4 separate regions of the Homo sapiens genome follow, and all the other regions are linked to region 3. The links are contacts of gene promoters, found by promoter capture Hi-C in blood cells and fetal thymus (Javierre and others, 2016). All regions are on one chromosome and are shown on one strand. The core of a region is centred on a gene start or on the middle of the fragment in contact, and the rest is flanking DNA. Distances in the headings are between cores, read along the strand shown. Region 1 overlaps CLK3-AS1 (CLK3 antisense RNA 1). Region 2 overlaps C15orf39 (chromosome 15 open reading frame 39). Region 3 holds the start of FAM219B (family with sequence similarity 219 member B). Region 4 overlaps MAN2C1 (mannosidase alpha class 2C member 1).

Region 1 (2,784 bases), core at 249-2,748, 290 kb before region 3:
GAAAGTCTCCTGGTGATTGGAACTTCACTAAACACCAGCCTCAACTCCACTAAACAGTTCTCAGTTCCCAGTGGTTTCCATGAGCTGTGGGTGCTGCCAGGGGTGGCCACTTGCTGAACACAAACCCCATTATCCTCACAGCAGCTGGTCTGGGGAGGCGCAGCAGGCACTCCTGAGGGGAAATTGGTGCCCAAGTCCGGCAGGGAGTCCCGTGAGGAGCTGCAATCCCCACCCAACACTGTCTGCACCAGAGCCACGTTCCCCCTTCCAGTGTGGAAGTCTGGAAATGGCAGGGGAGCATTTGGGGGCCACCACAGTTTAGCTATGATGTGGGGGTCAGAGCCCTTAAGTCAAGTCACTGCTCAGGTACCTCTCTGGCTTCCATAGCTTCAGCTGTAATATGGAGGCCCTGACGGACCTCTCACCCACCAGCTTGGTGAGGAAGGTCAGAGGGTAGACAGGGGCTATTCTGCCAGTGTTGCCATCCCTACACCCCTCACCATCACCCTCCTCACCTCTAGGGTCTGGGCCCAAGTCCACTGCCTCCCAACTCCCAACCCTGGGCACGAGGCACCCTGCCCTGGCTCTGAAAGGGCACAGGAGTTGTCTTCACCTAAGCAGTGGTTACACCTAGCACCTCTACCACCCCCACCCTGACCTCCCCACTCCTCACATTCCCAGGCCTTCTCCACTCAGGATGGCACCATCGCCCACCAGGCCTTCTCCCCACTGGACAGCTTGACTCTCCTCTCCCCTTACTCCAGGCCCAGGCTCCTGCAGCCCCCTCCAAAATTGTCTCCCCTCCAAAATGTCACTGCCACACAAGGCTTCTCTAAGACAGACCATGAGGACTGGCCGCTGCCCCCACCTCCCATACTGGGTACAGCTCCCACAATGCCACTCTACCTGGGTGCTCTGTCTTGCCAGTTAGAAGTGACAGGCTTTCCATGGCAGCCCCCTGCCCTTAGTGAGAAGCTGAGCTGTGCCCAGCTTGGTCCGGGAGGGGCTCATGGTCCACAGAATGGAGTGCACATGCAGGCCAGATTGTCCTGAGCAGGGGGGCAGGCCAGGGCAGCCCCAGGAAGGCTTTCCAGGGAGGTGACCCTGGGGCCAAGGCTCAGAGGTGAATTAACTGCCTCCAGAGAAGGCAAAGTCAGATGAGGCAGACAGAGGAGACAGTAAGGACAATAGAACAAGGAGGGCATCAGAGCAGCTGGGCCTGGCGGGCAGTGAACTGAGCCCTAAGCTTGGTGGAAGTGGAGGTGGGGGGCAAAAGGGAGACCAAAAGGGGTGAGAGGAGCTGTGGGGTTTGGGAGGATGCAGGGCAGCGGCACCTCCCCAGTGCCCTTGAGATATGCTACAGACCTCAACTCCACAGAGGCTGAGGACCCAGACAGGAGCTTGGGCCTGAGGGGCAGTGGAGGTGGAGCAAGCCTCCTCTGAGGTGGGGATGGGAGTGGAGGAGTTACCCAAACCTCACCTGGGGGCAGATCTTTCTCCAAGTTTCTGAAAGGTGTGAAAGTCACAAAAGAATGAAGCTCTAAGGGTAGAATCTCAGGCAGGATGGCCTCCAGGCTGCAAAGTGTGGAGAGGGAGACAGCTGGGAGATGGCTTCTGTTCCACCTCAGAAAAAGAGAGTTGCTTCGTGGCTGGGAGGTAGGGACTCCTGGATTCTCAGTGGTGGGCAGTTTTGTGGGAAGGTGACTAACTTACCCCATCAGAGCCTATAGCTCAGGGCAGGGCTGGGGACAGAAGCTTCTCTGAGAACATCCATCCCGGGGACAGAAGCTTCTCTGAGAACATCCATCCCTCAGGGCTAGTATCCTGGAGCCATGGAAACTCAGGCAACACTAAGTGGTGGGAGGAGGAGACACCAGAGAGGCCTCCTACTCCACCTCATCTGAGCTGATGAAACCCCGAGATGGAACCTGGCTAGTGTGGTCGAGGCCATGGGTACCAGGCAGGAATGGCATCTCAGATGGCCTGGGATTTTTCAAAATCTTCAGCTTTTGAGATAGGACCTTAGGGGGCAGGACCTCAGCAGCCAATCTGGGTCACCCACTGTACACTGAAGCGGCTCCTAACTTTCTTTTTTGAGACGGAGTTTTGCTCTCTTGCGCAGGCTGCAGTGAAGTGGCGCGATCTCGGCTCACTGCAATCTCTGCCTCCCGGGTTTAAGTGATTCTCCCACCTCAGCCTCCCGAGCATCTGGGACTACAGGCGCGTGCCACCACGTCTAGCTAATTTTTGTATTTTTAGTAGAGACGGGGTTTCGCCATGTTGGCCAGACTGGTCTCGAATTCCTGACCTCAGGTGATCATCCACCTCAGCCTCCCAAAGTACTGGGATTAGAGGGGTGAACCACCGCGCTTGGCCGATTTTTTGTTTATTTTTTGAGACAGGGTCTCCTTCTGTCGACCAGGCTGGAGTGCAGTGGTGTGATCATAGCTCACTGCAATCTCAACCTCCTGGGATCAAGCGATCCTCCTGCCTCAGTCCCCTGCAAGGAGCTGGAACTACAGGCATGCGCCACCCAGTCCGGCTAATTTTTGTAATTTTTTGGAAGGGGACCCAGTTTTGAATTAGCTTCTGTTGTTTACTTCGGATAGCCATGGTGGAGCTGGCAGAGATTTAGGGGATACTAAACACCCCTACAAATCACGCCTTGAAACCCCCCGTTTCAGGGAGAGCCGCTGGCGAAGGACTTGATGCGCAGCCGCAGCTCGGAAGCGGGGGGCTCCCCTGCGACACCTCCCCGCTTCAGGGGCGGGCCCAGACCCGCGG
Region 2 (2,700 bases), core at 182-2,681, 300 kb after region 3:
GGGCTTGGGCTTGGTCTCTGGGGCTGGTATGGCAGAAACATGATGGCTGTCTTATATATGGCAGGGTCCTCTGTTCCCATGCCTCAGTTTTCCATCTGAGCAATGGGTATTGGACCAGGCCAATGGTTCCTGACCTGCTGAGCCCCTTTGCTCTCATCCTTGTACCCAAACAGCCTCTCCTGAGTGGTGCCCTCATCAGATAGAGTTCTGGTGTCACCTGGGGAGAAGCACATCTTTTTTGCTTGGATGGTCTGGCCAGTGGGCATGTGTGGGGAAGAGTTGTGATGCCAGCCTGACTTGGGGCAGAGCAGAAGCACTGTTTGGATGGCTTTGGAAGCCAGGAGGTGGGACCTGAGGGTATGGGGTCTGCAGGCTGACTATGTGTTCGTTTTCCAGGTGACTTTGACACTGAGGCTGGAGCTGTGTCCTCCTCAGAGCCCACTGTGGCCAGAGGTGAGCCAGAGAGCCTAGCCCTGGCTCAGAAGTCACCGGCCCCCAAGGTCAGGAAGCCAGGCAGGAAGCCACCAACCCCTGGCCCGGAGAAAGCAGAGGCAGCTGCTGGGGAAGAGTCCTGTGGTGCCTCCCCTACCCCTGCTACCAGTGCCAGCCCACCTGGCCCCACACTGAAGGCCCGCTTCCGCAGTCTGCTGGAGACCGCCTGGCTCAATGGCCTGGCTCTGCCCACCTGGGGCCACAAGTCCTCAAGACCAGACCAGCCCTCACCCTGCCCACAGCTGCTGGACAGCCAGAGCCATCACCTGTAGCACTGGTTGCCAGTGCTGTGTGTATAGCAGTCACTCTCCACCCTTCCCTTCTGCCTGCCCAGCTGCCCCGGGGCCACGAGTGGATGCTGGGGCTGTGGCTGCTCCCCTGGAGGGGTTCCATCTCTGACCCTGTGGCCCATTCAGGGTGGGCTGAAGAGCCCCTGAGCTTTTAACGTGAGGGTCTTTATTGGATAGGACTACTCCCTATTTCTTGCCTAGAGAACACACATGGGCTTTGGAGCCCGACAGACCTGGGCTTGAATCCCGGCTCGTGTTCTTGCTGCAGGACCTGGGCAAGAAACTTCACCTCTGCTGAGCCCTCATTCCCCATGTGTAAAATGGGACAACGCAACCTACCTCACAGGGTTGTTGTGGGGATGCTGCCTGATACATACCCTGTCACCATTTGGTCTCTGCTTCCTCTCTGGGACAGGGCCTAGAATTGGAGGCAGAGAACCTTCCTATAGAAAGTCTTCGTGTGTCCTAGGACTTGGCTATCGTAGAGTGGTACCTTAGGCAGTGGATGTGACTCACACTTTCAGGAGTCACCCCCCAGCATTTGGGGTTGGGTTGGCCCTACTCCAGCCTGGAGCTCCCTGAGGGAGCCTGCACTCCCTGCTCCCAATCCCCGCTACTGGTGCAGGGATGCAGCCTGGAGCTGGCGTCCTTGTTCTGGGCCTGCTGCTGCCGCCACCCCAGGAGGCCCCAGGCCTGTCCTGAATTGACATCAGTGCTTCCCTGAACTGCCTCCCCCACCCCTGGCATTATCCCAGGAAACTTATGTTTTCTAGAAGCTAAGCAGCTGCTGGGACTCAGGGACTGGTGCAGGTAGGCTGAGTGGCAGCTCAGTCCTAGAAGGTCTCTGAAGATCTGGACTGAGGACCCTGCTGCTCCCCAAGCCAGAGCCCATCAGCCAGGCCTGCTGTGAGCCACCTGCCTGTGGAGTGCTGAGCTCAACCAAAGGCTGGCAAGCTCTGGGCCTCATTTAAGGGATTCTGATGAGCCGATGGGCCCTGGAGGCAGCCCATTAAAGCATCTGGCTCGTTTTTGGAAGTGGGGCCTGTCCGTGTGTTTGGGGATGGTCGGTTTCATGTTCCGTCACTGTGTGCTTAGCCCTTTGCTCGCAGGCTGCTCTCCCTGCTCCCAGTCCAGAAGGTGCTTCTGCACCCTCGTGCAGATGGCTGTGGCTCTGTGGACCCCTCTCACACACATACTTGCTTGCTCTGGGAAAGCCCTCTCTCCTGAGACCCCGTGGGTCCTCGTGGTTGTTGGTCTGTGGGCTACTGCCTGGTGAGAAATGCTGGTCATTAGACCCAGCACGTGCCTCTCTCCCAGGGCCAGACATGTCTTTCATGGTCTGGGTAGAACTGTTACAGCCTCCCCATTGCTGGTGACCATGCATCCCACTGACCTTAGCTTGGAGGGTGGGGGGTAGTGTGCTGGGCCCACCCTCTGGAGACCCTGCCCCTGCTGGGCTCTGTTCCCCCAGAGGCTTGTTCTCAGGGCAGCTAAGGTGGCTTCCTGGGCCTGTCTTCCCACTCCCCCTGGGCCAGGGGCCAGTCCACTGGGGCTTGTTGGACCTGTGTGGCATCCTGGTGGTGGTCACTGAGCCCAGCTGCACTGTCCCTCCTGTGCCAGCCTGGCCTTAACACTAGGCTGGGATTTGGAGTGGCAGCTGCCATTGTCCCCTTCCATTGTTCATATAGGCCCAAGAAGAGCTACTGGGCTGTGAAGGGATAGGTAACCACAACACATTGTGGCTGCTGCAGTGACAACCAGGGTGGAGGGTCCTTGGGTCCCAGAAGAGGTGATACCTGAATTGGACCTTGAAGACAAATACAAAATCACATGCAAAGTGGGGTCTGGGTAGAGAGAGCCGCACGTGCAGAGTCTTGGTGAGTCTGGAACAGGAAAATCCCCAGGCGAGGCTGGAGCT
Region 3 (3,048 bases), core at 1-2,500:
CGGGCTTTCACCATGTTGGCCAGGCTGGTCTCGAACTCCTGACTTCAAGTGATCCACCCGCCTCGGCTTCCCAAAGTGCTGGAATTACAGTCGTGAGCCACCACGCCCGGCCTGTATTCTACTCCTCCCATAGGTCTTGGAAAAAAGCACACCTCCCCTTGCCTGATCTAGGAAAAGCACCCTCTCCCCACTTATTTAATCAGAGGACACAAAAACTGCAAGTCTTTGGGTAAAAGGTTAGGGTTAACCTTCACTTCTCCGAGTTTCAACCCTCATCTGTAAAAGGAGGCACTGAATAAGGTTCTATGCAGCTCCGAGTTTACTATTCTGTTAAAAACAAACAAACAAAAACAGGTCTAGCCATTCCCACACTGCTCTTCGTCCTCATTGCTGGGGACTCCAGCCACCATTCTCCTCCCTAACAGAGGAGGAGAATGATAGTGAATGAGCCTGTGCACTCACAGAACTCCCTTATTCCGAAGCCCTTTATCTGATCCTATCACATCCTTAAAGGAAAAGAGAGATTGTTCCTCTTCCCATTTTAAAGATAGTGAACCTGACAGGTTGCATCAGGGGAATCGCTAGCTCGGCCTTAAACCAGAGCACCCTGCCTCCGTCCTGGGGATTAAAGCCTTCTCTAAAGCTGCTGGCACAGAGGAGGTGGCGCCTGCTGAGACCTTTTCCCTGAAGAGTCTGGGCGGTTCGGCGAGGCCCCCAGCATGCCTTTTCTCCGCAGAACGGCCTTGGCCAGGTCCCGGTGCTTCTCTGGAAGTTAAAGGACCCGGGTCAGCCGGGTCTTCCCCACTCCGCCGCGTCTCCCGAAGGCTGGGAGGCCGCTCTTTCCGAACGGATTTTGAGGGGCGAGAGCAGGCTGCAGCTAACCCCTTCCCTCCGGGGCCGAGGCCCAGCGGAGCTCCGGAACCCGCCCTGGGGACGCGGCCGCCCGCCCAGGGAGAAACCTCCCCCGACCATCGGGCCACACTCACGCAGCTTGGCTTGAATGGAGGGTGCGCGCGTCACCATGTATGGCCCCCGCTTTTCCACGGCCGCGGGGGTGCGCTCCCCCAGACGGAGGGCTCTATTACCGATCTGCCCGGAGGGTGGCCCCGCAGCTCCCGGCGCGCGGTCCCGAGCCCCGCTGGGCCGGGGTCCCGGGGTAGACAACCGCAACGCGCGCCCGCTGGGCTCCGCGGTCGCCATGGCCGGGCCCCGCCCTGCCGGATGGTGCAACCCCGCCCGTGGCGAAAGAGTGACCGGCCGAGGGAGAGGCGGGCTCTTTTAACAAGATGGCGGTGCGCAGGCGCAGGTAGTCCCCTTTCGGAGCTCTCCGGTTCGGTAGTCTGAGGACTTGGCCGAAATGTTCCGCCCTTCTTTTCGGGGGGACCGGGCAGTTCCGTTCTCGGTTTTGGGGTAGGCGGCTTGAGCCTGGTGATGGTTAGGCTTAGTTCTGTCTCTAGTGGAAATTAAATACTGATACTGTCGTGGGGCTGCGCGTGTGCGTCGGTCGGGTGCCCACGGTTTGAGTCCTGGCGCGCCGCACTCTGTGCTTCTCGCAGTGTCTCCTTGGGGGTCTCCCCACATGTGGGGCTGCCAGAGAGCAGACTTGGGTTGAAGAGTCATATGAGGACAAGCGTTATCAGCGACCTTTTCTAGCAAAAGAAACAGGCCCCAGAAGTTAAAGAACCTTGTGAAGGTGACACATCTAGAGGCAGTGCTTGCGCTGATCCATCTGACGCCAAACCCCACCTTCTTTCCAACACCAATTGGTGCCTGTGACATTGGACAGGACCTGACCCTCTCTAGGCCTCAGTTTCCACATTTAAAAATAGAGCCAATGTCACTACTCATTGTACAGTGAGGCAAATAGGCGTTGAAAAGGAGGGTGAAAGTGCACTCTGAGTCTGTGTGTGGTAGGCTATGTGTCAGGGCTCTTGACTTCTCTAGCCCCCAAGGGATGTGCTTGTGACTGGCTGGAAAGAAACTCCAGATCCTTGTAGAACTCCCAAATCTCATGAGGCTGTCCCTTGACTAACTTACTGGCTTCAATAGGGTAGGTCAACAGTGTGCAACCTCCGAGCTCCCAGGGCCACGCAGACCGTTGGGTGGCACTATGCCTTGGGCAAGAGAGGTGAAAAGGAAGAATTTAGGGCTGAAGTTTTCAAAAATCAAAAGCACAAAGGAATCCTTACCATTTTGGTAGATTCCCCCCACTCCCCATGATGTTAGACTGTTTTTGCCTCCAGAAACAGCAGGTTCATATAGCTCAACTTAGTATTTAATGGTTATAACCTCCCAATGAAGCCAATAGTTATTCTTGTTAAACAAATGAAGCTTAGACTTGGTCAAGTTTACCAGTTAAGTGATAAACCTGGAATTTGTACCCAGTTGCCTGTGGACTCCAAAGAAGTAGTTTTCTGGCCGGGCACAGTGGCTCACATCTGTAATCCCAGCACTTTGGGAGGCTGAGGCAGGCGGATCACCCGAGGTAGGGAGTTCAAGACCAGCTTGGCCAACATGGTGAAACCCCATCTCTACTGAAAATACAAAATTAGCCGGGCGTGGTGGCGGGTGCCTATAATCCTAGCTATTCAGGGGCTGAGGCAGGAGAATCGCTTGAACCCAGGAGGCGGAGGTTGCAGTGAGCCGAGATCAGGCCACTGCACTCCAGCCTAGGCAACAGAGCAAGACGCTGTCTCAAAAACAACCAACCAACCACCCCCCAGCCAAAAAAAAAAAAAAAAAAAACCAACAAAAAAACAACGAAGTGGTTTTCTCCTGGTTATGCTGATGTGGACATCACCAAGGGCCAAAGAAAATGTGATTTAAACCAGCAGTCTCCAGCCTTTTTGGCACTAGGGGTTGGTTTTGTGGAAGACAGTTTTTCCACGGGGTGGAAATGCGGGGGCTGGTTTTGGGATGATTCAAGCACATTTATTGTGCACTTTATTATTACATTACAATATATAATGAAATAATTATACAACTCAACTTAGAATCAGTAGGAGCCCCAAGCTTGTTTTCCTGCAACTAGACGGTCCCATCTGGGTG
Region 4 (2,749 bases), core at 76-2,575, 460 kb after region 3:
CAGAGGCATGGCTCCCAGGATGGAGCCAGCTGTCCTACCAGAGGTGCTACAGCCTCTCCTGACTCCCAGGCTGCAGTTCCTCCCTTACCAGCCCAGAACCTCTCACACCTTACCCTACATCTTGGCACAGCAGAGAAAGCCCTTGTTCTGTGATCCCAAAACTTCGGCTGCATCAGAATCAATACCTTCAGGAGCTTGTTAAAAATGTGGATTTCCCGTAAAACTCAGACACTGCAAACTTGTCCAGGAAGCCTCTCTGGAATCCCCCAACCCAGCTGGAGTAAGTACCTCTCCTGTGCTCTCCAGTGCCTCAGACTCCCCACCATTGTGACACCAACTCTGCCTGCTGAATCTGTCTCTGTAATCCTACCCTCAATATCTAGCATGGGCCCCATGAGGCATCAGATTTTGTTGAAAGAATAAATGAGGCTGGGCACGGTGGGTCATGCCTGTAATCCCAGCACTTTGGGAGGCCAAGGCAGGCGGATCACCTGAGGTCAGGAGTTTGAGACCAGCCTGGCCAACGTGGTGAAACCCCGTCTCTACTAAAAATACAAAAATTAACCAGGCATTGTGGTGGGTGCCTGTAATCCCAGCTACTAAGGAGGCTGAGGCAAGAGAATCGCCTGAACCCGGGAGGCAGAGGTTGCAGTGAGCCGAGATCACACCATTGCACTCCACCCTGGGTGACAAGAGTGAGACTCCGTCTCAAAAAAAAAAAAAGTGAATCCAAAGCAAGCAGAGCCCACAGTCCAGCCCCCCGGCCCCGTTTTACAGACGGGGAAAACGCAGGTCCAAGAGGAGCAAGAACTTGCTGAGCATCACACAGTGCTTCTAGGGCACATCCAGGTCTTCAAGGGCACTCCTGCTTCCCCAGCCAGCCCAACCAGCTGCTGTCCTACCTGTATCAATGTGGCAGTGCCCTGTGGCATGAATGGTGTGTTGGCTTTCACCCCCATGTTGGCCAAAGAACCTGGAGGCCAGGGCCTGGGCCACTGGGAAGGTCTCGGGCTGGGCAGGGTCACACACGTTCACCATCTGATTGGCTGTGTACAGGGCCTGGAAGCTGCGCTGGTTGTCCTTCCCGAGGCCCTGCAGCAGGGTTCTGCCCCTTAATCCCTTTTTCAAGCACAGCTTCCAGACCTAGGCTCCACTGATCTCAGGGCTCTCAGCAGAGCTCCCCTGACCCCCAACCCTTTTTCCCTGCTGGTCCCCCTGCTCAGCACCGTCTCCCTCCTCCCCTTCACATAGGAAAATTCTCTCAACCCTCAAGCAGGTGGAAACCCTCGTCCTACTCTGGATTCCCAGAGTCCCATTTATCTGACCCAAAGAACAACCTTCTTGGAGCAGGGCTCTAGAGGGTAGCAGGGGGTACAGGGGGTGTCAAGTACCTTGGCTATGCCCAGCAGCAGCTCCAGATCCACCAGGAGCATGTGGACATCCCGGTGGAACACAGCTAGCTCAGCCCGGCTCAGCTGGAACATCTTCTCAGGGTCAGGGGCTGCAATCATGCTTCCCTTCCCGGCCCCCAGGAGCCCATTGCAGGCTACTTCCACATAGAGAGTGAGGCTACAAAGATGGGGAGACAGCCTCAGGCTAAGGGACTGGCACAGTACTCCGGGGACTTGGGGAAGGGGCACCCAGGAGGCATCCAGCTGAGCCCAACCTGTCTGCTTCCAGGATCCACTACCCAGAGGATCCCACAGTGTGACAAGAGTGCATGTGGGAGGGTTGTGGTACAAACACCAGATGGATCCCATGTCTTGCTGTCAGAGAGAATAAGTAGCAAAGTTTGGAACCATGTAAAGTACGCTGCTGTTTAGTCTTATATTTCCAAAGTTGTCTTTGCAAAGCACTGCCTTGGTCTTGGAACCCTCTTTGCATATTAAAATCATGTTCGGATCTCCCAGGCTCAAACTTTTAGACCCAAGATCTAAAACCAACACGGCCAACATGGGCGGGCCATTCATTGGAGAACAGGCTGGGCTGTGGTGATGCCATACTTAGGCTTCAGAGAGCAAACACGACTTCCTTAGGGAGGCCTTCCTGACTCCACTTCGCTGCTAAGTCTAGAGCAAATTCCTCAGTGGAGTACCCAGGATTTCCTTCCAGAGCCCTCAGTTTTGTAATTATATGAGTGAATCTGTCTCCCTTTGTTGGCAAGGGCTATTTTATTCACCACCATACTCCCAGTGTCTGAAAGCATCTGAAACAGTGTCAATCTATATAAAATACATTCATAATGTCTAAGAAGTGTTTTTAATGGTGTCATAAAATGTCCATGTTATAACATGGAATGTAAGAAGTCAGGATACAATCTTAACTAGTAAAAACTATACCGGGATGAGCCGGGCACGGTGGCTCATTCCTGTAATCCCAGCACTTTGGGAGACTCAGGCAAGTGGATAGCCTGAGGTCAGCAGTTTGAGACCAGCCTGGCCAACAGAGTCAAACCCCGTCTCTACTAAAAATACAAAAAATTAGCTGGGCATGGTGGTGGGCACCTGTAATCTCAGCTAGTAGGGAGGCTGAGGCAGGAGAATTGCTTGAACCTGGGAGGCGGCGGTCGCAGTGAGCCGAGATCGTGCCATTGCACTCCAGCCTGGGTAACAAAAGCGAAACTCCGTCTCAAAAAAATCCAAAAAAACCCCCCCGAAAAAACAAAAAAAACTATGCCGGAAAGATACACCAAGAACATGAATACTGGGCCAGGTGCGGTGGCTCACGCCTGTAATTCCAGCATTTTGGG

Evidence for each region. The method cuts DNA at HindIII sites, captures the fragments that hold promoters and counts their contacts. A CHiCAGO score of 5 or more calls a contact.
Region 1: a fragment that was not itself captured here is called in contact with the fragment with the promoter of FAM219B in region 3 in 4 of 17 cell types (neutrophils, non-activated CD4 T cells, activated CD4 T cells and 1 more); the score reaches 6.9 in neutrophils.
Region 2: a contact is called between a fragment that was not itself captured here and the fragment with the promoter of FAM219B in region 3, in 1 of 17 cell types (M0 macrophages). The highest score is 5.0, in M0 macrophages.
Region 4: a fragment that was not itself captured here is called in contact with the fragment with the promoter of FAM219B in region 3 in 2 of 17 cell types (monocytes and neutrophils); the score reaches 5.8 in monocytes.

The regions. Positions count from the first base shown.
Region 1 is chr15:74,611,937-74,614,720 of GRCh38, forward strand. It overlaps CLK3-AS1 (CLK3 antisense RNA 1), which reads right to left. Exons shown (of 9, transcript XR_007064715.1): 1 at 1-2,784. It also overlaps a transcript of CLK3 not described here. Among named protein-coding and RNA genes, the nearest start is that of CLK3-AS1, 2.5 kb to the right of the region's middle. RefSeq lists a silencer at 2,675-2,784. The HindIII fragment of the contact is 509 bases long and covers 1,245-1,753 here.
Region 2 is chr15:75,210,353-75,213,052 of GRCh38, forward strand. C15orf39 (chromosome 15 open reading frame 39) reads left to right here. Exons shown (of 3, transcript NM_015492.5): 3 at 397-1,817. The coding sequence ends at 764. Among named protein-coding and RNA genes, the nearest start is that of C15orf39, 9.8 kb to the left of the region's middle. The HindIII fragment of the contact is 6,741 bases long and covers 1-2,700 here.
Region 3 is chr15:74,905,601-74,908,648 of GRCh38, forward strand. It overlaps FAM219B (family with sequence similarity 219 member B), which reads right to left and starts at 1,251. Exons shown (of 5, transcript NM_020447.5): 1 at 987-1,251; 2 at 678-765. The coding sequence starts at 1,200. RefSeq lists enhancers at 1-667, 668-1,472, 1,314-1,593 and a silencer at 954-1,253. The HindIII fragment of the contact is 3,941 bases long and covers 1-2,329 here.
Region 4 is chr15:75,363,097-75,365,845 of GRCh38, forward strand. MAN2C1 (mannosidase alpha class 2C member 1) reads right to left here. Exons shown (of 26, transcript NM_006715.4): 5 at 1,392-1,569; 6 at 903-1,092. Among named protein-coding and RNA genes, the nearest start is that of MAN2C1, 4.1 kb to the right of the region's middle. The HindIII fragment of the contact is 8,016 bases long and covers 1-2,749 here.